7 separate regions of the Homo sapiens genome follow, and regions 2, 3, 4, 5, 6 and 7 are each linked to region 1. The links are contacts of gene promoters, found by promoter capture Hi-C in blood cells and fetal thymus (Javierre and others, 2016). All regions are on one chromosome and are shown on one strand. The core of a region is centred on a gene start or on the middle of the fragment in contact, and the rest is flanking DNA. Distances in the headings are between cores, read along the strand shown. Region 1 holds the start of SCN2A (sodium voltage-gated channel alpha subunit 2). Region 2 holds the start of SCN1A (sodium voltage-gated channel alpha subunit 1). Region 3 overlaps TTC21B (tetratricopeptide repeat domain 21B). Region 4 has its middle 20 kb from the start of GALNT3. Region 5 holds the start of GALNT3 (polypeptide N-acetylgalactosaminyltransferase 3). Region 6 overlaps COBLL1 (cordon-bleu WH2 repeat protein like 1). Region 7 overlaps GALNT3 (polypeptide N-acetylgalactosaminyltransferase 3).

Region 1 (3,664 bases), core at 730-3,229:
GAAAGCCATGTGGCCATCCACATCATTCATGAGCATAGGGTAGAAGAGTATACACCACCTAATAATGAAAAAGGCATACTAAGAAACAGAGTTTCCATAGTTGTCATTCAGTTTTCTTGGATGCTTTGACAAGAAACCTAAGAAAATTGAGCACTGCATATAATATGCCATTGAGCAACAGTATACTGAAAGAAACTCTATTTTACAGAATATAACCAAACACACACACACATGCACACACACACACACACACACACGCACAGTGAATATCATCATACCTGGTCTATGCCATCCTGATATGTTCACACTAGAGGTGAATTGTGTTACTGCTATGGAAGATGTGGAACTGTCAATCACTGTTCTAGCCTTGCCTTATTGTAATTTAGTACGTGACTCTGGGAAATCCACCTTATCTCTCAATTACAATTGCTTTTCTTTAAATGATAATGGGGATAAATGGTTAAATATCTGTAATTCTAAAAATCTCCATGTATATGGAGCCATGTAGAACTACAAACTCTATAGATTCCACACATTTAAAAAACATGTTTTTTTCATGGTTTGTCCAAACCATTTTATAAAATCATTCCCCATAGCTTTCACAACCTCTGACATGGCAAAACTACCTCTTTACAGGAAAACAATGACTGAGATAAAAACATCCTGATGCACCTCCACCGCCTGCCACCTCCACCATCACACACACACACACACACACACACACACACACACAGCTCTTTCCACAGGAGAAAGAAGTGAGGCATTTAAAAACAATCTTACAAAACTATTTTTAAAATATTTGTAAAATCTCTTTAAATTTCTCTAAATGAAAATCAGTGGTTTTTAAATATAGGATTTCTATATGTCTTTATTCCTGTTATTCTAATAATAATCAAGCAAGGATTTAAGGGAAATCACGAGAAGCAGCAGAGAGAAGCAAGGCTGTTGCATGCAACTTCCACCTCCTGAGTCATTCCACTCTTTAACACAGATAATGTCACATGACCTAAAATAATTTAAAATGTGAGCACCTTCTATAATATCAACTATTTAAAATGGCCACGGTTCTATTATCCCAAATCCAATAAAATACAGAAAAAATCAATTTTCATGGCAATTAATTTGTGTTCAGCATACTCCTCACATCCATACTGGGGGAGGAGGGAGGGTCTATAGTCTCATTCCAAGTCTATTAAACACATTACATAAATCTTGATTCATGTGGGAGAAATGACTTACGTATTATTTCTAAGAGGTAAAAATAAAGACATAAACAATCTGTACCATCATAGCCAGCAGAAATCGTTCAAAAGGCCTTTGGACTCAGAATATTGGCTTGCCTCTGAGGCTGCAATCAGAAGGCTCAGCCCTGAGCTTTGGCAGAGCCACTGCCATGTTAATCTGCTTCATTATATCTCTACAATTTGTTCACTGCATTAAGGAGCAGTATTTCCCTTGTGAAAGGAAAACCCATCCTTCACTTTGAAAGCTTTACCTTTAAAAGGTAAACAAATACAGCCAGAGACAGAGACCAACAGCTAGAAAGCCAAAGAAATAATAAAACACGGTATGTCATAGTCAGAGCTCATTTCAGCCTAGGAAGATTTTAAATTGCACAACAGCTAGAATTAGAGCTTTTGAATCTCTTAGATCTGAATACAAGCTAACAAAGCACACATCTTATATTAAATGTCATTCTTAACATAGATAACAATCCGTGGATAAGTCAAAAATAGAATCATGCTGGCTTACCTGAAATAAAGAAAAATGTAAATCATAACACAGAATCCACGTATGTGTTGAATATAACAGTCTCCAATGCAATTCTTCAGAATTTTTACTGGAGTAGAAAGTAAAATCTCACATGTGCTCTATCCTCATTAAAGAAGAAAAAAACAAGAAAGGATGACCACAGCATCCTCCCTCCTTTGCCTTAGCTTTCTGTTCTGACAGTCATTCGATGGTACCCAATGTCTGTTAGAAAACAGCATGCTAAATTAGAAAAATAAATAAATAAAGGCAGCATCTTACATGACAGCTCCATCTCCTGGTCAAAAGTGGAACCATCTTAATTCACGTTCCTTTGGCTATGTAGCAGTCAGCACATAAAATTAAATGATGTACAGCCCATAATTCCACTCTATTTGAAATCAACTACTTTAATTAACTGTAATTTAAACATTTAAGAAGAATTATAGTATGAATTTTTAGAATTATAATTCTATTTTGGGGATTCAAATTTCTTTACATTATGTTTAAACTAAATGGAAGCTTTTCCCATCATTGAAAACTTAAGATTTATTTAACTTTATATACCATCTGAAAAAGTAATATGTATCTCCTATAAAACAATTTTAGATGTCAAGCTTATTGATAATGAACATCACATCTCTTTGTGGAGAAGTATAAGTTTTTGTCACTAGAGAAGTTAACACATAACACTTGTGTTGCTATTGTTTGGAGGAATGTTGAAAGGTTAAAGATAAGGCAGGAAAATTAAATGACTTAAAGGCAAACTTGAAAAATCTTTAGTTAATCTAATCTAACTACAAAAATACAGACGACAAGTTACATGCAACATGAAATTTGATAATTGTAGTAGTATACTATAGTGTGTAGTTACATCTTCTTAGAGAGATAAGAGAAAATTAAATTGTCAAAAGAATCCATTTGGTAAATGACACCATTTATAGAATCAAAGTTTTACTGAGCATATGATGTTCTCAATATATGTTTGTTTAATTAATTATTCTTCTTATGAACAGTTGTGAAGGCCAGGATCATTTTTTTAAAATTTGAAGTAAAAGGATAGGCATTTTTTTTCTCCCACTTTTTTACAACACCATTTTAATTTGGGGCCAAATCGATCTTTAATTTCCTATTGCAGTAACGCTGTCCATGGTGCTGAGAACCAATTTTAGAACTCATGGTGAGTTCTAGGTCTTAAACGGGTCTGAAATACTGTCTTTGTCAGATTTGATATAAAATTTACCATTAAAAGTCCCCAGATCAGCCAGAATAATTGATAGTATCTAATATAAAAATAGTTAAGTAATTTTTTTATCCACAAAATATGTATATACACATGTCCATCAGAAGCCAAAATGCTGATAAATACATTTAATAAAATACATGATTGCAAGCTACACTTTCTTTGGATTCATAATATTTTATTTTCTGTGTGCTAAAGTTATACTGAATAGATTGCTTTAACATAAGGTTGTTCCCACACTATTAAATAGACGAGGAAACCAAAGCCCACTCTTCAGTAACTTATCCAGTATTAATAAGCAAGTCAGAAGAACAAACCCAGTTTCTTAAATTTTACCTTACTTCCATTTCTACAACATTATTAAGATGTATTAGTTTGGTTATGAAAATATATTTTTAACACTGAACAAATAAATAATTAAAGTGACTTGGTAGATCAAATTATTTTAATGTATACACTCAACTATTTCATCTCACAAGTTTCCTGCACTATCATAAGATACATAAGCTCTCAGGGCACATAATTATGATAATTTTGCCAAATTAATTTGCAATTTCAACAAATTACTCCTGATGGCCAAGAAGCTTAAACCTGTAAGATTAAAGCCTAAGATGCCACAAATATGAAATATTATTGATACTTTATTTTTAAAATCACGGGAATTTTACAATA
Region 2 (3,664 bases), core at 775-3,274, 890 kb before region 1:
GGGATAAGTGTAGTAGTGACATAGGGTAGCACAGAGTTTTGTTTTAATATCTTCTGCTAACTTTAAAAAATAAATATGTGATTTTAAGTGCATATTACACTAATTTAATAAAAATCTCATATTTTGCCTTTATGCTCAGTCTGAAACATGGAAGATTTAAAGTTACTAATACTGTAAAACTGCTTCAGCTCTGACGAATGAAGTATCTGTGTACAGAATGATGAGTTGTTAGTTAATAGTACTCTTTGGGCCATGCTTGGGATATTGGCCTTTTCTAGGAGTCTGTATGAGAATAGTCATTTATCTCCTTATGCTCAATGCTTTCAACTTGTCAAATGACCATGTTTCATAAGATACAACATAAAATTGTTCTATAATTAACAAAAGAAAAAAGAATTCTATCTGCTGAGAAAATAGAAAAGACGTTGGAGAAGAGAGAATATTTGACCCAGACATTTAAAATATCCGCCGAATTTGCTATGTGTAGATGGATGAAAGGTCTGCCAAGAGAAGTGAAGGTTGTGAACAAAGACATGGAGGCGGAAGAAAGGTAGTGTGCACACTGAATGCGTTGTGCCTTTCCATATGACTGACATGTCAATGTAAACTCCACAAAGGGAGGGTTTTGATCTGGTTTGTTTGCCGATGTTACTTAAGTATCTGGAAAAGTGCCTGGCATATATCAGGTGCATGAAGAAGTGAATAAATGAAGTGTCAGATGCCCAGAATATGAATAATACTTGATAGATGCAGTACTGGCAACTTTCTTGAAGCTAATGAAGTGGTTAGGACTCCATAGTTCAACAGAAACCAAGTTCACTTAAGCAAACATGGAGTTTGAGTTTATCATGGGACTCAACATCAAGAAAGTGTTTGGATCTTGAGTAGACTGGAGATGGAAACAGTCTGTCTCTGTCTTTTGTCACTTCTTCCTCCACATCTGTGTGGCTGGCTGCTATTTCAGTATCCTGGTCCACCTGGTCCTGAGTCCCCATGGTGAGGGAAAGCTGACTCCATAGCTGCCAGAATCACATGTAGTGGCTCTCTTTGACCAGGTCAGCTGCGTAGATACCCTCTCTTGCTCCAGTCCTCTGTAGCAAGAGGGTAGGTTTACCACTAAGGATCAGGGGAGAAGAACTATTGGGGGAATTGTTAAGAGCAGACACTCAGAAAAATTGGCACCTATAATATGCAATTAGAATTCATTAAAACATGTGGCCAGGTATGTTCTTATTTTGTGTTTTTACATATCTAATCTCTAAGTACTATTCATATGGAATGTATTATTCTAAAAAAATTGCCTGTTAGTTCATGCAGTTCCCACTCTCTTTTCATCTCTAACATCTTGGCAATCGTTTACCAGTTGTTGATCACCTGTCTCCTCATCTTCTTTCAACTTTGCCCTGACTCTACCAGATACTGGGCAACATCATTTCCCAGACATTGAGTAACTTCAAATGAATGTGTTCATGCTACTCCAACTGGCTTTTGGGAAAGCACTGGATAGAGTTTTTGAGCTGGAACAGGAAATTATCTTACTTAATTTCTTTCTTTTATAGATAAAAAGATGGATCCACAAGATGGACCCATTGGTCCATAATTAAGGGCTAGTAAATGTTTTGTAAACATAGAAATCAAAATTACTTTTCTGTGATTCTAGAACAGGAAAAAATGGTGAACTTTTAGGTATGTTGCAAAGAACAGTGGATTATTCTTTGGGCTCTTGGGACCAACAGCCTTAGTTTTATTGCTTTGCAAGCTATGTGGTCTTGAATAAACCTCAGTAAGGCTCAGAAAGCTTCAGTGTTCTCAAGTATAAATAGGAATAATTATAATATAATAACATTAATAGTATTTATCTCACCATCCTGTAATAAGGAAGAGAAGGATTAAATATTGAAGGTTATATTGATAAATGATAAAACACATGCAATGATTGTAATAAGTGTGTTAGATGGCAAAAGAAAAATAATGAGGATGAAATATTTACTTCCAATGACTAATCTACACATAATCGTGATTTTATGTATGACTGAATGTTTAAGGCTGATTCCATTTTAGAATACAATATATAACATAAAAAGCTCTACTCTCAGTTCCAAGAGTTATAATTAGTTTGGCATGGATTTTTATTGTCTTAGAAAAAACTGATATTCATGGTTTTTATAATTCTATCTTTGGGTAATAGGCAATTGGACTCTCTTTCTATATATATTTGCTTATTAAAATGTGTTATTATAATTAAGCTTTAGGCTGTGTCCACAAGATGGGAAAACATTGGAGTAAAATATAGTAAAACCATAGAAATTGAGAGTGGGTTGAAAGTCTTGTTTAATCTGTAATTACAGATGAAGATAGTAAGAATGTAAATGTCCATAGAAGACTTCAGTGGCTTTGTTAAAGGCATGTGTTCATCAGTGTTGAAGTAAAACTCACATTTTGTGACTCTGAGCTGTTCACTATAATATGAAACCTAATCCTAAAACACAATATTAAAACAGAAAAATGTGAAGCCATAGATCTGTAATAAAGGGCCACCTGATTGTTTCCTGGTGGAATAAAAAGACAGTTTTATTTATAAGATATATCATTTTTATAGATAACAATGATTCATATTAGGAATAAAGTAACAGTTTCAAACTAAAATAATGCTAAAGTTTTTCAAGTACTACTTGAAAATAGCTATATTTACTTTCAAACCTTTTCCTCTTTGAGTCATTAGGTTCATGATATTATATAGCAATAGGGAATGAAAGAGAAGCAAGGAGAAGCAATACTGGGAGATTACAGAGAAGAAAGGAAAAAAGGCTGAGAGAAAAGAGGTTGAGGAAGAAATCATAAATCTGGATTGTGAGAAAGTGTTTAATATTTAGCCACTAGATGGCGATGTAATGTAAGGTGCTGTCTTGACTTTTTTTTTTTTTTTTTGAAACAAGCTATTTGCTGATTTGTATTAGGTACCATAGAGTGAGGCGAGGATGAAGCCGAGAGGATACTGCAGAGGTCTCTGGTGCATGTGTGTATGTGTGCGTTTGTGTGTGTTTGTGTGTCTGTGTGTTCTGCCCCAGTGAGACTGCAGCCCTTGTAAATACTTTGACACCTTTTGCAAGAAGGAATCTGAACAATTGCAACTGAAGGCACATTGTTATCATCTCGTCTTTGGGTGATGCTGTTCCTCACTGCAGATGGATAATTTTCCTTTTAATCAGGTAAGCCATCTAATTGTTTCATCTTGATTTTAAGTTTATTCATTCCAGTTATTCCTTTGGAAAAAGAGTCCATGGAAATTCAGTTTGGGCAGAGCAGGAAGTCCATTTTTGTATGTGTATTCAGACCAACTGTCCCCCTCCTCCCTCTCCTCCTCTTCTCCTCCCCTCCCCTCCCCCCTCCTCTCTCAACCTTCCATGAACTGAAATCAGGTTTGTTTTGCAGTTCAGCATTTTGATAGAAGATGGGATTCTTTGGCCTGAAATAGCTTGGCATCTGGCCAGTTCTTGCCTTTGCTTGCCTTCATCCTATTCAAGGTCCCTTTTGATCCTGTTGAAGCCCCCTCCTTCACTGGTGCTTTGGAAGTGGACTAGCTGGCTGGGAATAGAGGTCATATTGTTCTTAAGGACGGAGCAAAAATTAGATCTCAGTTTTAACTCCACAGGAAGAAAGAAGG
Region 3 (3,664 bases), core at 321-2,820, 650 kb before region 1:
GGAAATTATACCTGAGATCAAAGGAATGAATGAATGAATGAATGAATGAATGAATGAATGAATGAATTTTTTTTAGAAGAAGGTGAAACAGGATTAAAATATGGGGACTAATATGCTAAGGTTCTAGTATGGTAAGCTAGCATATGGTATGTTAGCTACATGTACATATCAAAGAGAGACTGGAGAAAAATTTCTTATTGTCCATCCCATACATTATTTGTCAATTGTACTGTTCCCACACCCTTCCTAGCAACAGTATGTAGGAGAGGGGTTCTCAGAGACCGACAGTGAACTTGTCCTGTGCAATTAAATCGGTATTCCTGAACTTCACAGTTGAAAGTCTAGATTACCTAGGTAGGGGCTGTTTCTCTAAGGTTTTGGTCCCCCAAACAATAGAAAAGCTACAAGAAATATGCATTTTTCTAGATTTGCCTATGTAGACACTGTGACCAGCCTAGCCCAAACTGTATTATTTAGTAGATCATCTAGTTGGCCATACAGCCTCTATAGGGAATTATACCCTGAGGCATTTTTTATTTATATTTAAAATGTACTTTATATGAAGTAAATTATACTCTAATGAAGTAGAATTATAACCAACAAAAGAAACAGTATAAAATGGTGCCCATATCTGAAGTATTATTTGTTTCTAGATAATTATATGACATTATCTCGTTTGATTGATCTCCTAAGAAGATGTGGAAAACTCGAGGATGTCCCAAGATTTTTCTCAATGGCTGAGAAACGTAACTCCAGAGCAAAATTGGAACCAGGATTTCAGTATTGTAAAGGACTGTATCTTTGGTAAATCTATTTACAAATAAATGCTACATGATTTTTTTTTCTCATTGTAAATCAAGTAGAATAAGCTTTTCTTTGTAGTAAAAAAAAATGTACATTTCAAAATAATTCAACAGTTTTATTTACCAGACAGATTATAAACTAATATAAATTTTGTAGTCAGTGATTGAAATAAATAATTCTTTTAAACATCTAACAAGGTACACTGGAGAACCAAATGATGCCCTTCGACATTTTAATAAAGCTCGGAAAGATCGTGACTGGGGCCAAAATGCCCTTTATAATATGATAGAGATCTGTTTGAATCCAGATAATGAAACTGTTGGAGGTGAAGTATTTGAAAACCTGGATGGAGACCTGGGGTGAGTTATTTGACATATTATCCTTTTTTAAAAAACACTTGTTGGAGATAATAAACAGGGATACTATACAAAAGAACTAAATTTAGGATAGCAATAATGAAAGGTCAGATGAATAAATTAAATAAATAGGCATTTCATTGCCTGTTTCAGAGAATAGTTATTTTAGCAAATTGAATAGTTATTCAATAGAATAGTTATTGCTAATGTAACTATTCTGTGAAACAGGCATGAAATGCTTTTAGGTTTCCTAAATAATAATAGACATGCTATGAAGACACTCCCCTAATTGTAGAATTTGACAACTGTAGCAAAAATTATCCACACAATAATAGTAACTACTTAACAAATGGTAGTTATTTTCCAGACCCTGTCCTCTATACTTTCTACACACTATCTCATTTGTTTTCTATAACAGTATTGCAGAATAAGCTGAGTCAACTTGTTTAATGTGATAGTAATGATGGAGGCAAGATTTAGACTGAGTCCTGACTGCTGTTAGTGTGGTATACTGCTAGTCAATGGTTATTTATCAACCTGCATTAGTAGCTTGTCCTCTCTTCTGACTCAGGCAAGGCTTGTGGGGAATGTATTAGGACATAAAGGGAATATAAGAGGTAGTTTCTGTCTTCAGGAGTGTTTAATTAAGAGGCAAGACAATACCTGAAACCTTTCAATCTGCAACTAAATATAAATGGATTTAAATAGATATTAAGTATTGTCAGAGTTTATTAGGAATCATAGCAGTGCATAGTATTCAGGAGAAGATGCATGGAGGAGCTGGAGAAAATTAGTGGTAGATTGCCAAGAGATTTCAACAACAGATTTTAACGCTTGGATTACCGAGACCAGTTAGAGCAGGGAAGTGGCATGTTTATGGTTGTTTTAGGAAGGTTGAGGTAACATTACTGTTATGGAACTATAAGCTATTCAAGTGGAAATCTTCTTCAGGCAATTCAAAATACAAAACTAAAACTCAGAAAGAGAGGTCACAGCTAGGGATAGAGATTTGGGAGACATCTGCAGAGTGCATAGTTGGAACTCCATGAATGGTCTCTTTGTGAGTGGTAGAATGAAGTAACAAAAATCTGAGAACTAAATGTTAAGCTTGCTAACATTTAAGGGGTCTGGAGGAGGAAGGAAGGTCAGAAAAGGGCAATCAGCATGGTGAAAAGAGAACTAAAGCTGTGTAGTGTTACAGAAGCCAAGGGAGAAGAACTTTGAAGTGGTAGTCAACAGCGTGACATGTTTAGGCAAGATAAGCCTAAGGCCTGAGAAGAAGACCAGTGGCTTTAGTGATTGGACTTTGAGTGTTTAATTTCCTTTTATTAATTGATTTATGTATATTTATGTGCATGGGTTTGTGTGTATAAAATAAGAAAATTGCTATTAAATATTCAAATTGCACTTGAAATTACTGTTTGACACATATATAATTTCTGAGAGTCTGATAGGCAATGTGGTGAAGAGAACAGAGTAGATTTTATATGTCTGATAAGCTTAGATTCAGGTCCTAGGTTTACCACTTACTAGCTGTGTGACCTTTAGAAAATTACTTTACCTGTTCAAGCCTCAGTTTTCCTGTGTGTAAAATGGATTAAACATAGAATGAAATAATACAGTATTTGTCACTTTTTTCCTTTCCTTTCACTTTTTGAATAGATATATGTTAATTTTCTGATTCTACTTATAGTTTTATATTTGCTGGAATGCACACATTTACAACATGTAGATATTATCCAACTTTTGTCTTCATTCTAGAGGAAATTAATGCTTAATGGTGTTTTATTGAGTCCATATTAATTTTGTTTAAAATGCATTGTAACTGTGCTTCACTTTGTATTAGAAGAGAATGAGTGACATTCTTTACAAAAGATTACTTTTAAATGAGTGACAAAAAGAGTATAAAAGAGTGCCCAGAGCTTTTGTGTACAAAAGCTGATTCTAATCTCAATGAATTGTATCATGAGTAAGAGACAGAAGTGATTTATTTTTAATTATATACAGTAATTCAACTGAGAAGCAAGAATCTGTGCAACTGGCAGTAAGAACAGCAGAAAAACTTCTTAAGGAACTAAAACCTCAGACTGTTCAGGGTCACGTACAGCTTCGCATAATGGAAAACTATTGCTTAATGGCTACCAAACAGAAATCTAATGTTGAACAAGCATTAAATACCTTCACTGAAATAGCAGCATCTGAGGTTAGTGGATTTCCTTTTTCAGCTTCATGTGGTATCTTTATTTGGTAGTATAGAAACATATATTTTGATTAGTTGTTTATTTTCTGAAGATTGACTTAATTACTTAACTTTTATTAAAAATTAGGTATATAGTTGGGCATACACAATGTCCCCTTCTTGGCGGAAGAGACGATGTTACTGTTTTGTTGTGTTGTTGATATATTTCTCTCTACTGGAATGTTAAATTCTACAGAAACTGAATTCTTCAAAAGTATATAAGTTAATTCTCAAGGGAGCCACTTTATCCCCTGGAGAATTTCTG
Region 4 (3,664 bases), core at 456-2,955, 580 kb before region 1:
TGGGCCACTCTATCTCATTCATTGGGGATATCATATTACACTTATTATCATATAAAGGCCCTAATGGGTAAAGAAGGTGAACACAATGATAATATTGGAGTCCCAAACATTTGGCTTTGAGATACCATATTTATCAGGGAATGAGATAGAAATGAAGAAGGCCAGTGTAAATGAGGAAGTTAGACAAGATGCAAATAATTATATTACCATTATTCTTAGTACTATACTCTAGTTCCTGCTTCTAATTAAAGAACCTCATATTTCAATCAGTTACTGTCCACACTGCTGAGCCTAGTTTAGGATGATTATATTTTTGACTCTGCATAACATAAAATTGTAGGAGTGGAGGTGAAAAAGTTCAAGGGAGAGGGGTATGAAAAAGGAAGTGTTTACCAAGAGAAAATTTAGCATAGGTCTGCATTACTTCCTTGTGCAGCCATTGATACTTCTTGTTCTGCTGGTTTTAGTCTAAGTTTTCCATTTTATATCTCTATTTGCTGAAAGACAACAAGAGAAAAGCTGGGCCTGGAAAAGAATTGGCCCACAAGATAGTTTTAATAATGGCTAATATTTTGAGTGCTTACAATTTGCAGTCACAGTGCTAAGACTTTGATCATCTGACTAAACCCAGTGCTCATGATGTAGGCACTATTGTTAACCTAAGTTTACAAATGAGGAAATGGAAGCTTAGATTGGTTAAGAAAAAAATAAAACTAACCAAGGCACACAGCTGTGCTTTAATCACTATTCTAAAATGACAAATGAATGATGTGAGTATAATAACCTGAGATGAGACAATGGCTGAGTAAGAAGGGTCTTGGCCTAGGAATAAAAGGGCTCCGTTTTTCATCTGCCTCGATTATGGGGTTATTGTGAAAAATCAGCTAATGTCTCTTTTAAGGCCTCTGTAAATGTACACGAACCAAAAACACAATGCATTACTCTAGTACACATAAGACAGAATGGTTTGAGAATTAGGAAAATCCCATCAGAAAACTAAAATTGAGGGAGTCCACACTTAATATTAGAGGGAGAAAGATGGCTATATGACTATTTGATTAGGTATTCTGATGTTTGGGGCAGACAGAGGAGGATGGGCCCAAGATGCTTTGTAGGAAAGCAAAAAAGCAAAAGAGGAAATACCAAATGAGGATGAGTAGGTGTTGGCTAGCATAGCATGGAGATGTTTAGACAAAAAAAAAAAAAAAAAAAAAAAAAAAAAAGGAGAAAGCAGCAGAAGGAGACAGAGACACCTAAAGCCCAATTCCAAACTAGAGAAACAAGGAAGTGGATTTTTCTCTGGCTGCTGGATTGTCTATGTTTGCCACTGTGGCTGCTGAAACAAATGCTAACCTACTTGGTCTTGTGCATATTTGTTTTGTGGATGCATGGGCCATCTGTGTTCCGTCTATAAGCTTCGCTTGCTTTGCTTTTCTTTCCTCTCTTTGTCTCTTTCTTCCTTTCTTTCTTTCCTCTCTTCTCCTTCCTCCCTCCTTCTCTCCTTCCCTTCCTTCCCTTCCTTCCCTTCCTTCCCTTCCTTCCCTTCCTTCCCTTCCCTCCCTTCCCTTCCTTCCCTCCCTTCCCTCCCTTCCCTTCCCTTCCCTTTCCTTTCATTTCCTTCCTTCCTTCCTTCCTTCCCTTCCCTTTCCTTTCGTTTCCTTCCTTCCTTCCTTCGTTCTTTCCCTCCCTCCCTCCTTGGAAGCTCATGAAGTTGAATTTGAGATTTTTGCCAAATATCTTAAACCAGTGGTCTTCAAATTTAGTAAGAATTGGAATCCCTGAGATTTGTTTGCCAGATTTAGCAATTAAAAGTACAGGATACTCCATTTAATTTGAATTTCAGATAAATAATAAATTTTTTTTTAGTATAAGTATGTTCCAAATATTGCATGGGACAGACATACTTATACTGAAAATTGTTCATTGTTTATCTGAAATTCAAATTTAACTGGATGTCCTATAATTTATCTGGCACCTCTAGCTGGGGGAAGCTTGTTAAAATACAGATTTACTAGTTTCATCTTCTAACTCTGTCAGTTAGTCTGAAATGGAGCCACGTGGGCCTCCAGGTGATTCCAGTGCAGCTTGTTCTTGGACAACACCTTGAGAGATACTGGTCAAGCTCGGATGATGCTGACTTGAGGCTGAAACATTTCAGGAGGAGAGAAGGACACCTGGGAGAGAGGAGGGAGCTATGCATAACCATGGTAAACCCAGGGATGCTAGAGGACCTGGTCCTTGAGTAAGACCAGAAATAGCTCTGAGTGCTAGGACCCCAGTATGGTAACAAAAGAAGACACTGATTGAGCCCCACTGTTGTCATTTAATCCTCTCAACAGCCACATGAGAAAGATAACTCTTATTGTCTGTATCTCATTAGATGAGGAAATAAGAGCTCAGGATTAATTAACTTGTCAAAGGTCGTATAGGTAGTACTGAGTGGAATCAGGGTTTGATCCAAGACTGGTTATTTCCAAAGTCCACATTCTGAGCCAGTCCTATGAAAAAATAGTAGGCTTGAGGAGTTTTGTCAATACAACCATGTATATATATTGCTAAGTTACCTAAAGTATAGTCAGGGATGTGACATTTGCCCTCTGGAAGTGCTCAAACATCTCTACATTCTAATATATAACAGGCAAAGTGTCTGGGCATTTGTGAAAAGCCTAAAGATTTAAGCTACTAAAATATTTGGAGACTGATTAGTTGAGATATTGTTTAAGGAAAGCTTTTTTTGTCTAGAAGGCTCAGCCACATCGCCAAACCCATCATCCTAAAGGAAAGTATGTCAAGGGACCACTTCCTTTGGAGAATAGACCAACAATTCTCTCACCAGTTGACTTGAGACAGCTGAAAAGGCTCAAGAGAATGTCAGATAAGACCACTAGATACAGGGAACAGGTCAGTGGAGGAATTGGAGCCAATTAGACTAGAAGAAAGACAGCTCGAAGAAAACATGGCTAAGGATTCCTAACATTTGTAGAGCTGGTAAAGAGAAAAGGCAATGGGGAAGGAGGGATATGACTTGGAAAAGGATTTGACTCAATAACTATGTGGTACATTGCACTGTTATTCCAGATATTTACGGCTGTTCTCTGGGTTGTCTTGCTCCTGGCCCTGTCCTTCTCTGTGGGATGACTCCATGTGATGCATGTTGGCTAATGACATGTGGAAGCTCTAATGGCCAGTATACGATCCTCCAGGACCTCTTTTCCTCTGCCATGAGATCAGAAATGTCCCAGAGAGGGGCTTCTCCCTCAGCCAGGATCCCAGATGGATATCAATATATACCAGAGCCAAGCTGATTTGATAGGCACATAATGTTAGCCAAAAAAAAAAAAAAAAAAAGAAAGCCTCTGTTGTATTAGAGCTGACACTTTAGGGCTGTTTGTTACTGCAGAACAGCTTAGCTATCCTGACTGGTGAAATAAGAAACCACACTCTAAAGTCGAAGTTGTCTAAGCATGGAAAGGACTACTTGAGGAAGTGTTAGGTTCCATGGACTGGAAGTACTCGATATAGCTATACTACCAGTTTGGAGGATGTTAAAGAAAAACAAAAACAAAAACAAAAAAATGTCCTGGAGAGAGGTGGATTGAAATTTTGGCTGAGTAATTGGATCTTAATCTGTTCTCCATACCTGAGAGTCTATGCTCTGTTAATG
Region 5 (3,664 bases), core at 358-2,857, 550 kb before region 1:
GGGTAAACGACAAAGTGGCACAACGAAGAAGAAGGAGAAGGAGAAGAGAATTTCAGTAGTTAGTATTTTCAGTTCTGGACCTGGACCTAAGGAAAAACACTGCCAAGTTAGTATATCAATACACACAAGTATCTCCTGAACTATTTTTTTGTTTGTTTGTTTTTGGAGGGAAAGGGAGCTTGGCAATTGCTTGTAGGTACTGATATTAAAATGTTGCAAATACATGGAGGTTCCTTGGTGCTCGCAAAATAACCATGACATGTAAAACAAGCAAAGAACTACCTAGTTTACTAAAGTCTTAAACCCTAACTCATAGATGTCCTAGTATAAAATAGCACTATGGATGCTAAAACCAATGTCTTAGAGTAGTCAAATACTAAAGATACACTTGTTGATACTATACTAAACTGTATTTTAAACCTTATTTTTAGGTCACGCATAGCACTAATAAAACAGTGAATAAGCACCATAAGAGCATGTCAAAATGTAGGAGGAAGGCCACAACTAAACTTCATAGTAAAACCTACCACCATGTGATTAAACACGACACCAAAAAGTTTTTAGCTAGTTTTCTATTTATATCCCTAGATATCTTTGGGATAGGGCCAAAGAAATGAGTTCATAGAAAGGTATAAAGGCCATTTTAAGTCCTGGTTTTGGGTGTGTCAATGTTTGTTGCAGCAGCAGAAGGAAGGCTGAAACAGAAAGTTGTGTCATAAATGGAACAAATACTGTTTAACAATTTTTTTTTGTCTTAAAAACAGCAAAACCCACCATCTTCCTGGAGTCTGCGTTGTTCTCTTCCAGAATAGATGTTGAGCTTTTAAACAAACCTGCAGTAGAAGCAAGCCCTCTCCAGGAAATCCCAATCTCTTTCCAAACAGGGACAGCAAAGGTTCTCTCTGTTGTGGCTGTTTTTCCCTCTCTTCTGGGAATTGGTTTGCCTTCTGAGAGCATCCCAGGAAGGGGAGGTGCGCCCCAAATTGGCGAGGCTCTGCCAAATACCAAAGGCTCTTCTTTGGAAGAAGACTCCTCCTTTGGACGTGAGGCGCCCCTACCAGAGCGCCCGCGTACAGAAACGGAAACCACTAGCTGCGCTGAAGTGAGTCAAGTGATGAAATCAAGACTACACGGGAAGGAAGCTCACGAAACCTAACTGGTGACAGAAGCTGCTGAACCCTGCCCGAAGAAACCACATGAGCCAGCAGTTGCTGCCCTCCCGAAGTGGTCCTCGGAGGCAGCGCACCCCTTCATTTTGGCGAACCGAGGAGGAAGGGAGGAACCGTGTGGGGGAAATCTAGAACTTCTGGTTCCCCAAGGACCCAGCAGACTGTGTTCTGGCTACAAGGTGATCACTGCCACCAGGTCAGTGCAGGATTCCTCCAATGTAGATGGGCCGGGAGCCACAACTTGCGCGGAGCAGCAGCCTCGCCGACCACTCAGAGAGAAGCCGCGCGACAGCCAGGCTTGGCCCGGACGGCGCCCCCACCCTGCGCGCGCGATCCAAGGTTCTCACCTGGAGCGCTCAGGTAGGGCTGGGGCGGGGCGGGAGGCTGGCGCGCAGGCGCGGAAGTGGGGCCTCGCCCCTGCCGACGTCGCAGGCTGGAGCTCACCTGGGAGACTCCAAGTGGAAGCCGAGCCTCGGTTCTGCCTCTCCAGGCAACGCGGGAGGCCCAGCGGGAAGGCAGGAGGCGGCGGCGGAGGAGGAGCTCTACTGAGCCGCAACTGTGGCGACAGCAACCGGAGTCGCAGCCGCCGCCACCTGCACCTGGCGCCTAGCCCACGTCCAGCGCCTGCCCGGCCGCCGCTTCCCGCCACCCTGCCCTGCCCACCCGCCAGGTAAGCCGGCGGCAGGCGGAGGGAGACGCGGTACCCCTGGGCTGCGTTAGAGCAGGCGGGAGGACGGCCGCAGGGGTTCACGTGTTGGGGACAGGGCTACGGTCCAGGTGGCCGGTTGGAGACGGTCTCGAGAGCAGTGTGTCGGTTGCCCCTGGAGAGATCCCGAAAGGGGCGCCCTGGGCCAAGGGGCAGGTGGCGCCTCGGGGGGGAGCCCGGTCACACCCTCTCGCCCACGGTGCCCCCGCCAGTCCCTATGGGGCGGCCCCTGAGGAGCTGGACGGAGACCAAAGACCTGGTGGCCCCGGACTTGCCCTTGGGAGGGTCGCAGCGTGGGGACCCTGAGAGGGAGGGCCCGGCGGGAGGCGGGCGCGCTTCCACTCCGGCTAGCAGGTTGCCTGTCTCCTCCAGCCTCTCTGCCCGAGAGGACATCCCGCGACAGCGAAAGACATGGCTTTGCCAGGCAACTTTCCTAGCCGGGGACCCCAAACAGTTCTAGGCTGCAAACCGCGGCCGCCGAGCCATTTAAATGGTTTCCGAGTGGTTTGGAAAGGGCTCTGTGGCCGGGACGCGGACACCCCTCTCTCTCTGTTTCGACTCTGCACTTTTCCGGGTGCGCTCTCCAGGCCAGAGTTGGGCCCACTTTCCTGATCAATGGAGAAGAGTTCTTTTCTTCCGTGGCGGGAAGAAATCCAACTGCCACGCACCAACCACTCACCATCTCGTTAGAGGACCTGTTGACTTAAGGACCTGCATATCGCGGCTATGGTTTGCCTGTGGCATATGACTCAAAGGTTCAAAAAAACATTGTTTCAGGATCCTGCCACGTCTAAGCTTGGGTGTGCCAGGCCCAGATTCCTTTCCCTGCCTAATTAGGCTTTTCTGAAGCCTAAGAATTGAGGGTGAAACTGGCGCTTACCTTAGACTTTTATTTCCTTCTCTTTCCAACTCATCAAAGAAACTATTTCTGTTTTAAGAACCCCATCGAGTTACCAATATTTCCGATTCTTGAAAACGTTAACATAACTTGCTATAGAAGTTACACTACATAATGAAGACATTTACAGTCAAATTCTATAGCTAAAAAATATTAAAGTGACAGCATTTTAATTAGAAAATCTCTGCTTGTGGGAAAATCTGTTGCTTCTTTTATTGTATATATTTTTCTTTGCGTTTGTGGCTAAAATCCATGAGGTTAAAGTCACACGCTGCCATTAGATTCTTTTTTTTAATTTAACTTTTAATATCTGAAATCTAGTGCACATGTTAAACTTTCCAAGCAATTTGTACCGAGAATCAATCTTTATATATTGCTTTAACCAACATTTTTACGTAGAAGTTTCTGATAATAATAACAATTCCATTGTTTTGTTCTATCTCCACACATTTTAAAAATATTTTTTAAATTGCACGTTTTACTTAAAATGCCTGATGCAACATGTAGTGGGGTTATTTTTCTTCTTCTTTTTAAGATTAGATGGAAATCTAAAAGCCAACCACAGCATAACATGATGTAATTATTAATTCAATCACCACTTTTCTACATTTCTTAAAAGGATCTCACCTGACCTCTTAATCTTGTCTCCATACAGAGAAACAAATGTGCTAAATACTGTTTAAATATGAGATATAGGAGTTGTTCCCTGAATTTTGAATATTAGTCTTCATTACTTACTAGGCAGATGTTACCAGACTGTCTTTCCTCTTAACCTCTAGTGAGAAATGTAACATGTTTTCATTAGCTAGAGTAACAGTGTAACTTAATCTATCTGTTAAATAGGAAAAATAATACTTTCCTAGATTAAGATAACAAAACCTTAAAAACAAT
Region 6 (3,664 bases), core at 641-3,140, 520 kb after region 1:
TTAATGCATTTTCTTGTTCTTTTAAGAGCCACAGAAACTATGTTTGCCTTAGTCAAGGTTTACTGATGTCAGTAAATCTGTAGCTTAGGAAAAATTTTGTCAACCACATTTATTTTATATTTTTTGGCTGTCTATATTTAATAATTTGCCTCATTCTTCTAAGATATTTCTCAATATTAGCAAATTAAAGTATATGGATGGTGTTTTTTTAGAGCTTATACTGAAAATGCTCACATAAAAGGCTGTTGATTTGCTGAGCTAATTTTGACAAACTAACTGTGCAGTTTCCAAAGACTATTCAAAGTTAGCCGAGATAGCAAAGATCCAAGTTAGCAAATGATTTAACCCAAGCTTTCTTAGAATATTTCTGCATCTAAAATTATTTTTTCCATCTAAAGAATACATTTTGAAGAACACATATTTTACTATTATTGCTGCAGTATCCTTTCAAATCCCTAAATTTCTATGTACCCTCTTTCACATTATTTCAAGTCTCATGTCATTTTTCCTATGAAGGTGAATATATCATCTTCTATGAAAATGTTCATTTGAAAAGAAAACTTTCCCATTAGAAATTTTCTGGCAGTATTTCTTGGTAGTTTTTGAGCATTTTTTAAATATGATTTTTCCTGATGATTTGAAATGCCATTTGTGCAACAAGACATATAATAGATCATGCTTTATTTATATGAACCATATAACATATATTCTTATATAAAATGTACACAGTTATTTACGATAAGATTGTCATTTGTGAAATGGGAAGTCAGAAATTCGATTACATTGACTTAAATTGAAAGTGACTTAGAATTCTCAGATAAATCTAAGTTCAGAAATCTAGTTTCTGCACCGTATCTGCTGACCAAGAGTTTATGAAGAGCACATTTAATAAAATCAATGGCCAAAGGATGTTCTGGTCTTATTGACAAATTAGCCTCATAAGCTGATTTTACATTTGAATAAGTGGAAGAAGAGTCAGGGAAAAGTATTTGGTAATCTTGACCCATAGAATTCACAGAACCTTTTGGAGAATTTTTCATTTGGCACATTTGGTGTGACTGCTGCTTGGAATGATGGATATACAACAGCAATCAATTTTTCTCCTGGCTACGGGGATGGCACATCATTTTCTCTGGGATATTACATTGTGGCTGGAAACACTGTAAGAAATGATCTTCACTGGGCATTTTATTTTATCTCATTTTGCATCCTGCTTCAGACAAACACTCAACTATTGAGAAACGGAAACTCTTTGCCATCTAGTATTATGCAAGTGAAATTTAATACCTAGAGTGTTAGTTTTAAAATAACTGACTTAATTTTTTAAATGTTTTACATTATTCATCTTTTATGCAATTTTATATTCTAATATATATCATGGTTTATAAGCAGATAAGATGATGTATTGTCATATACTTATGAAATGTACAGGTACATATTTTGCTATTTTACTTAATTTTAATCCTAGTTATTTTACATAGAGTATGTAAGGTTGTACCCTCTGTTGTAATAGAGTATGTATTTGCAATGTTTAAGAAACATCCCCCTTTTTAGATTTTTACACAGGTTGTTATATTTTATTTTCCCCTCCATTTTCCTCTTATATTTATTATATAGAAAGTGGACCACCATGCATAATTCTACAATTGCCTAGGAACAGTGGTTACCATGGCATTTGCAGTTTGCTGTACAGAATACAGCTGTCTATACTTCCAAAAATATGACTGGTTTCATTCAGTAGAGAAATGTACCAACACAGTATAATATTTAATCTGCTCCCCTTTTTAAGGCTTTCCTAGATATAATACATACTTTGCCACTGTAGTTTTCATCAGATTTTCAAAGGGTCATAATCACAATAACAAAAGCAATGGTGAATGCTTATATAATGCTTACTAATGTTTCAGACAAGGCTCTAAGAACATTACTTATTTAATCCTTATGACAACCCTCTGGGCCATTACATTTTAGGTTTCTGACAGTTTTAGCCTAAAAGAACTATGAATTATGAGGAATTAATAAGTTGTTAAACTTTAAGGAAAAATATATTATTCAAAGAGCAGTAGGTCATTTGTGGAATTAATATGGATTTCTCATTCTTGTCTATTAGTATGTAAAAAGTCGTACCTCTCTAAAATAACATGCTGAGTTAATAAAATAGTATTGAAAATAATTACTGTTAGGAGGCTTACTTTACCAGTATGAAGTTTACTTAGCCTCTCTATCTCTGTGATGTTTGTGACCTCATGGGAAGATTTGCATTTCTCTGGTAACCAGCATGTGTTAACAGAGGCCAGGGCAGATAGAAGCAGGCCTCTTTTCTGGAGCCACAGTGATAACCTTAAGGTGTCCCTGGGATAAGCCTGCTCCCAGCCTTAATTGCCTTTCTGGATGAACTGAGTTGGCCCCAGTTTGTTTGATTGACTGTAGCTTCACTCTGGTATAGGTCCTAAACTCGGTTAACTTCTAGATTATTCACATTCTCCTACCCTGTGGCTAAAAACACCTCTATCCTCATCACTGTGATCACAGGGAATCATGGTTACCACCATTCCCTGTCTTTTAAACTTGATCCTGAGCTCTGCTTTCTGGTGGTTCATCCTGGTTTTTTTTTTTTTTTTTTTCATCCAAGATGTACCATTGAGCTAGACCCTCATCATTGGGCTTTTACTAAATGCTGTATGCAGAGGATTATCATGAGTAAGACTTAGTTTATATACTTTATCAGAGTATCATAGGGTTGATGAAAGCACGGATTGCCTCAGGAAGACAAATGGAAAAAACTTACAGGGGAATAACATGGGATTTTTTAATGTGTGTGTGTGTGTGTGTGTGTGTGTTTCTTTCTATTGTGCCTAGACAAGGGCTGGAAAGAAGAAGTCCTGACCTGGCCTGAGAGAGAGACTCCTGAATTCTACTAATAGGTCTATTATCTTCTTCTTTGCCGTTGTCATTTTTTTTCCTTCACCTTTGCTGAACTTCTCTATGACTTAGTTTTCTCCTCTGTAGAATAAGATTGTGTAATTAAATTTCCCAAAGTCTCTTCCAACTCTAGTATTACAAAATTATGCTATTTTGCTATTTTTTAAAATTGGCCTCTAACAGATGAACGTGCTTGTTTTGGTTTGATCAACGTTAACGAGATGACGGTGTCTAATCCTGGCATTACTCCTCTGAGGATTTCAGAAACTTAAAGTACAATAACAAAATAAAACATTGACTGACATCTTTCTTCCCAAACTCCTGACTGTAACACAAAAGTTAACACAATTGCATAGGTATTGCATTACTAAAAAGAGGTAAAAGACTTGATATTTGATGACGACATGCTTAGGTTAATGAGTTTGTTAACCATGGTAACCATGTTACCATTGACTAATAATGAGTTTTAAAGTAGATGACTTTAAGAGAAATCTAGTGGCAAGCTTGGCCACTCAGAATCCCCTGAATGGGTTTAATTTTATTAACCAAAAAGGTACAAGTTACTGTTGGTGGTGGTATTTAGATCACATATAAGTGAACCTAGCTGTAACCTCATTGCTTCCTCTCATAATATTTATTTCAGCAGATTGGTAGGAGCAGCATTAAAATTGTCCACATAGTGATAGCTGGCCTAGTGTAGATGTAAGAGCTCCAGGCCCTGGTACTGCTGACCTATTTCTTC
Region 7 (3,664 bases), core at 357-2,856, 520 kb before region 1:
GACATTTAAGTTTACTCCAATGGGAGAGGACACGAAGTACTCCCCCCGACCCCAAAAATCTTGACTTTGAAGATAGCATTTCTAGTTTTTATTAATCTGAATAAAAGCTTTGAAAATGTGATATGGCTTTAATTTTTTAACTTCAGTTCTTAAAATATGCTGTTTTATCTTGTTTAGTTTTTATAACAAAATTTGACAATGGATTATTTTTCAGAACACCCACTTTTGCAGGAGGACTTTTTTCCATATCAAAAGAATATTTTGAGTATATTGGAAGCTATGATGAAGAAATGGAAATCTGGGGAGGTGAAAATATAGAAATGTCTTTCAGAGTAAGTTTATGGAAATTAAATATAGCAGATATATTAAACAATGAAATATATTGTGTTCTAATCGGCTGGTACATATGATTACAGATGTGTGCACTCTACTTTTTGTGCTTTCTGAAACTTAATTGCTGGAAATTTTGGAATAAGAATATTTTCTTTTAATATGTAACTTAATATATTTATTCATTGTCGCCAGTGTAACAAGAGGAATCAGTTAAACTCCTGTGTCCAGGCAGTAACACCAATTAATGCACTTGTAGCTACTGAATTCCAGCCAAGATAAATATAATTAAATCTAGTGCTTCAGGAAATGAGTTGATCATCAAGGGAGTTAGAATGGAAAAACATTTATGAATAATTTTAAAGGACATTGGACTTAACTGTTTGGAATGAATGAGCTTGATTTTTTCTATACATATTATAAGTTAATATAAAAAAAGGCTTTGGGTAGACTCCGTATGTACCTTATGTATTTGATTTCATGAGTTTCATTTTCTGCAGTAACTTTATCATTCATTTTTCATCTCTTAGGCTGGAATGTAGTGGAAAAAGAACTGAACTAGGAGTTAGAAGATTTAAGTTTTGGCTCTGGCTCCATCACATACTGGCAGTGATGATCTTAGCCAAGTTTGAACTGCTTATGGCGGGGTCTTGTTTATTCATTTCAGTATTTCCAACCCCTAGCACGTGTTGGGTCACAAGCACAGTTTGTTGAATTGAACATATCACTGAGTCTTCTCATTTGTTCAAGAAAGAAAGGAGAGAAAGAGATTTGTAATCACTTGCTCTACTACAAGCACATAGTATTAAATATGACTTATTTTCTGATTCTTTGCTTGGTAACTATGGCAGAGTCAATTATTAAGATATTTAAGTGAAAAGGCATTGATTTCATGATTTGCCATTTTATTTAGCATTAATGCCAATAAGGATTTTTTTTGACGTTTTCTCTCTAAATTGGCATGAATTTTTAAATAATCATCCTCTACTTTGCAAGTTCAGTAGAATGATCATTGGTAATAATAGCCATCTGGAATTGTTTTCTTGGTTACAAAATTGAATATACAAGAGATAAATAGGGTCTGAGTCCACTTATATCCAAACTTTGAAGAGAAACTCTAGTTTAAGTGAAGTGACTATGTCAGTAGTTCAGACAGAAGTCAAATGCATAAGAGCCTTTAGTTTTCTGTGCATATTAGAGAACTTACATAATTATTTGCAAAAACAAAAGCCTGGAATTCATTTTTATGAAAAATCTGAAATCACCATTTTGTTAACTTACTGAAAATGCACTTCTGTTGTCTTTAGTGTCTATGCCATTTAATAAAATAATTCCTTACACTTAAGAACTTAAGTTGAAATGGCAGGGGACAGAGACTATTTGTAATATTGTAATCTCTTCTCTAATTTTGTTTTTCATAATACCTTAAAGGTGAACTTAAAAGCAACACTTTGATTTTTCTAAAATACTGTAAATTTAAACAAATATCATTAATTATCAGGTATGGCAATGTGGTGGGCAGTTGGAGATTATGCCTTGCTCTGTTGTTGGACATGTTTTTCGCAGCAAAAGCCCTCATAGCTTTCCAAAAGGCACTCAGGTGATTGCTAGAAACCAAGTTCGCCTTGCAGAAGTCTGGATGGATGAATACAAGGAAATATTTTATAGGAGAAATACAGATGCAGCAAAAATTGTTAAACAAGTAAGTTAAAGCTAAGTAGTTAAATTGCAATAAAATCTATAACAAGTTCACACGTCCTTTTGCGTCGATTCATCTCAAGTACAAAACATCAAAAAATTTGAAAGTAGGTTTTTAACTCTTAAAGTACATGACTTATGAATCCAAGTTTCCTTTTTTAAGAAAAAAACTAAGTAAACTGCTTTTTAAAAATCAGGAATTCTACTTGATGTTTTTAATATGAAAGATAGTTCATTTTTGTTGCTGCCCTGGTTCAATATTTTACTCGAAGAAAATTAAGTAGAACTGTTTTTACTGGTTTTAGGAGATATAACACCTAAATAAAGGTTCTAAGTGACTTTTTGCACTGGAGATAGAGACAGTGTCTTAATGTGGCATGAGAATAAACCAGGAGTGCCAAGCCTTTTTTTTTCAAGCTCTAGTTTCACTACTTACTGGAGATGTTACTTTGGCAAAGCCTTTGAGAATGTAAAATAGGGAAGACACTTCATAGAGTGGCTGCAAGGTGGCTGGACATGGAGTGCATGCTTAACATATTTCTTTTCTCTCCTTCCCTGTTTTAAGAGATGAAATACGCATGCTGTCTCTCTCCCAGAGTAGCTGTGAAATAAGAAAGTGATAAGTGCTAACAAATATATGGTACTCTTGTTATTAACCTGCCATAAATAGATTCTGCTCTGCAGAATCATGAAACCTAATATATTAGAAGTGAGTTCCAATAGTCTTAATAATATTAGATAAGGTAAATTAACTAGATAGTTTAAGACCATGCTTCAGTGTATAGTACTCATCTCTTTGTAGGAAATAGATAGTGCTAATTTGCAGGGTGAGGGAAGGTGGAGTATTTATTGGGAGTCAAGGGTATCAATATTTTGGCTGTTGCGGTGAAGAACGATTTGGTTACCTCTTTCCCTTTTTCTCTGGTCTCCAGTATCTCCCTGTTAGGATGCAAATTAAGAGCACTACTGAGTTAGATTGCTATCTTTTTACCCAAGGCCATGAAGACAAATTGGGCAGATTGTGTACTGTACAATAGTACTTGGCTAAGCAGGCAAGTGGGCACTAAATGAAGCTTATGCTCTGCTTGTCCCCCACAAAGGGGCACATAAATCAGCAAATACCTGTTGGTTACCACAGGACACATAGATCTACATGGTAAATGTAATAAGCTAGCCAGAAGTCCTAAAGACTCATACTTTTTGCTAAAACGCCTGGGTTCAAGACATCAAAGTTGGCATAAGAAAATATTTTCTTTAGTTGAACTGATAAGATTGAGTATTTACTTTTGCATACATTTAGATATTACATGTACTTTTTCTCTAATATTTTGCCTGTAGGTCAAATACCTTGAAGTTTAATAATGGTTTTTTAAAAAAGTTATTTTCTTAGTACGTTAAAATGAAGGAAAGCAAAATTCATTTAACTTGAAAATTGCCTTTTTCTACTAAAGGTTCAGTTGGGGATATTGTTAAGAACAAGCAACATCCTGAAACTAGAAAAATTACTCCCAGTGGGTTATTTCTTGCTGGTGGTTTTCTGTGATCTTGATGGAGAAGAGATAGAAGTTGCATTGTGTATTGGCACTGTTTGTCTATACCTGATTTCTGACACCTCACTTTGCAGATCATTTTTAGG

What was found. The method cuts DNA at HindIII sites, captures the fragments that hold promoters and counts their contacts. A CHiCAGO score of 5 or more calls a contact.
Region 2: a fragment that was not itself captured here is called in contact with the fragment with the promoter of SCN2A in region 1 in 4 of 17 cell types (naive B cells, total B cells, fetal thymus and 1 more); the score reaches 7.6 in naive B cells.
Region 3: a contact is called between a fragment that was not itself captured here and the fragment with the promoter of SCN2A in region 1, in 1 of 17 cell types (megakaryocytes). The highest score is 6.4, in megakaryocytes.
Region 4: a contact is called between a fragment that was not itself captured here and the fragment with the promoter of SCN2A in region 1, in 1 of 17 cell types (megakaryocytes). The highest score is 6.0, in megakaryocytes.
Region 5: a contact is called between the fragment with the promoter of GALNT3 here and the fragment with the promoter of SCN2A in region 1, in 5 of 17 cell types (megakaryocytes, M2 macrophages, erythroblasts and 2 more). The highest score is 10.6, in megakaryocytes.
Region 6: a contact is called between a fragment that was not itself captured here and the fragment with the promoter of SCN2A in region 1, in 1 of 17 cell types (total B cells). The highest score is 5.3, in total B cells.
Region 7: a contact is called between a fragment that was not itself captured here and the fragment with the promoter of SCN2A in region 1, in 1 of 17 cell types (megakaryocytes). The highest score is 5.3, in megakaryocytes.

The regions. Positions count from the first base shown.
Region 1 is chr2:165,237,729-165,241,392 of GRCh38, reverse strand. It overlaps SCN2A (sodium voltage-gated channel alpha subunit 2), which reads right to left and starts at 1,979. Exons shown (of 27, transcript NM_001040142.2): 1 at 1,753-1,979. The HindIII fragment of the contact is 782 bases long and covers 1,492-2,273 here.
Region 2 is chr2:166,127,316-166,130,979 of GRCh38, reverse strand. SCN1A (sodium voltage-gated channel alpha subunit 1) reads left to right here and starts at 2,960. Exons shown (of 29, transcript NM_001165963.4): 1 at 2,960-3,209. The region is part of intron 2 of SCN1A-AS1 (SCN1A and SCN9A antisense RNA 1); the gene reads right to left. The HindIII fragment of the contact is 448 bases long and covers 1,801-2,248 here.
Region 3 is chr2:165,887,978-165,891,641 of GRCh38, reverse strand. TTC21B (tetratricopeptide repeat domain 21B) reads left to right here. Exons shown (of 29, transcript NM_024753.5): 23 at 654-804; 24 at 1,002-1,163; 25 at 3,168-3,363. Among named protein-coding and RNA genes, the nearest start is that of TTC21B-AS1, 44 kb to the left of the region's middle. The HindIII fragment of the contact is 1,398 bases long and covers 872-2,269 here.
Region 4 is chr2:165,812,503-165,816,166 of GRCh38, reverse strand. No RefSeq gene overlaps it. Among named protein-coding and RNA genes, the nearest start is that of GALNT3, 20 kb to the right of the region's middle. The HindIII fragment of the contact is 576 bases long and covers 1,418-1,993 here.
Region 5 is chr2:165,792,190-165,795,853 of GRCh38, reverse strand. It overlaps GALNT3 (polypeptide N-acetylgalactosaminyltransferase 3), which reads left to right and starts at 1,607. Exons shown (of 11, transcript NM_004482.4): 1 at 1,607-1,839. LOC124906086 reads right to left here and starts at 2,268. Exons shown (of 6, transcript XM_047446887.1): 1 at 2,062-2,268; 2 at 1,517-1,935; 3 at 775-1,054. The coding sequence starts at 2,268. RefSeq lists silencers at 1,665-1,814, 1,885-1,974 and enhancers at 1,045-1,950, 1,951-2,857. The HindIII fragment of the contact is 5,078 bases long and covers 1-2,672 here.
Region 6 is chr2:164,713,331-164,716,994 of GRCh38, reverse strand. All of the region lies in intron 7 of COBLL1 (cordon-bleu WH2 repeat protein like 1), which reads left to right. Among named protein-coding and RNA genes, the nearest start is that of SNORA70F, 27 kb to the right of the region's middle. The HindIII fragment of the contact is 3,074 bases long and covers 354-3,427 here.
Region 7 is chr2:165,755,415-165,759,078 of GRCh38, reverse strand. GALNT3 (polypeptide N-acetylgalactosaminyltransferase 3) reads left to right here. Exons shown (of 11, transcript NM_004482.4): 6 at 215-332; 7 at 1,832-2,032. Among named protein-coding and RNA genes, the nearest start is that of GALNT3, 37 kb to the left of the region's middle. The HindIII fragment of the contact is 2,994 bases long and covers 110-3,103 here.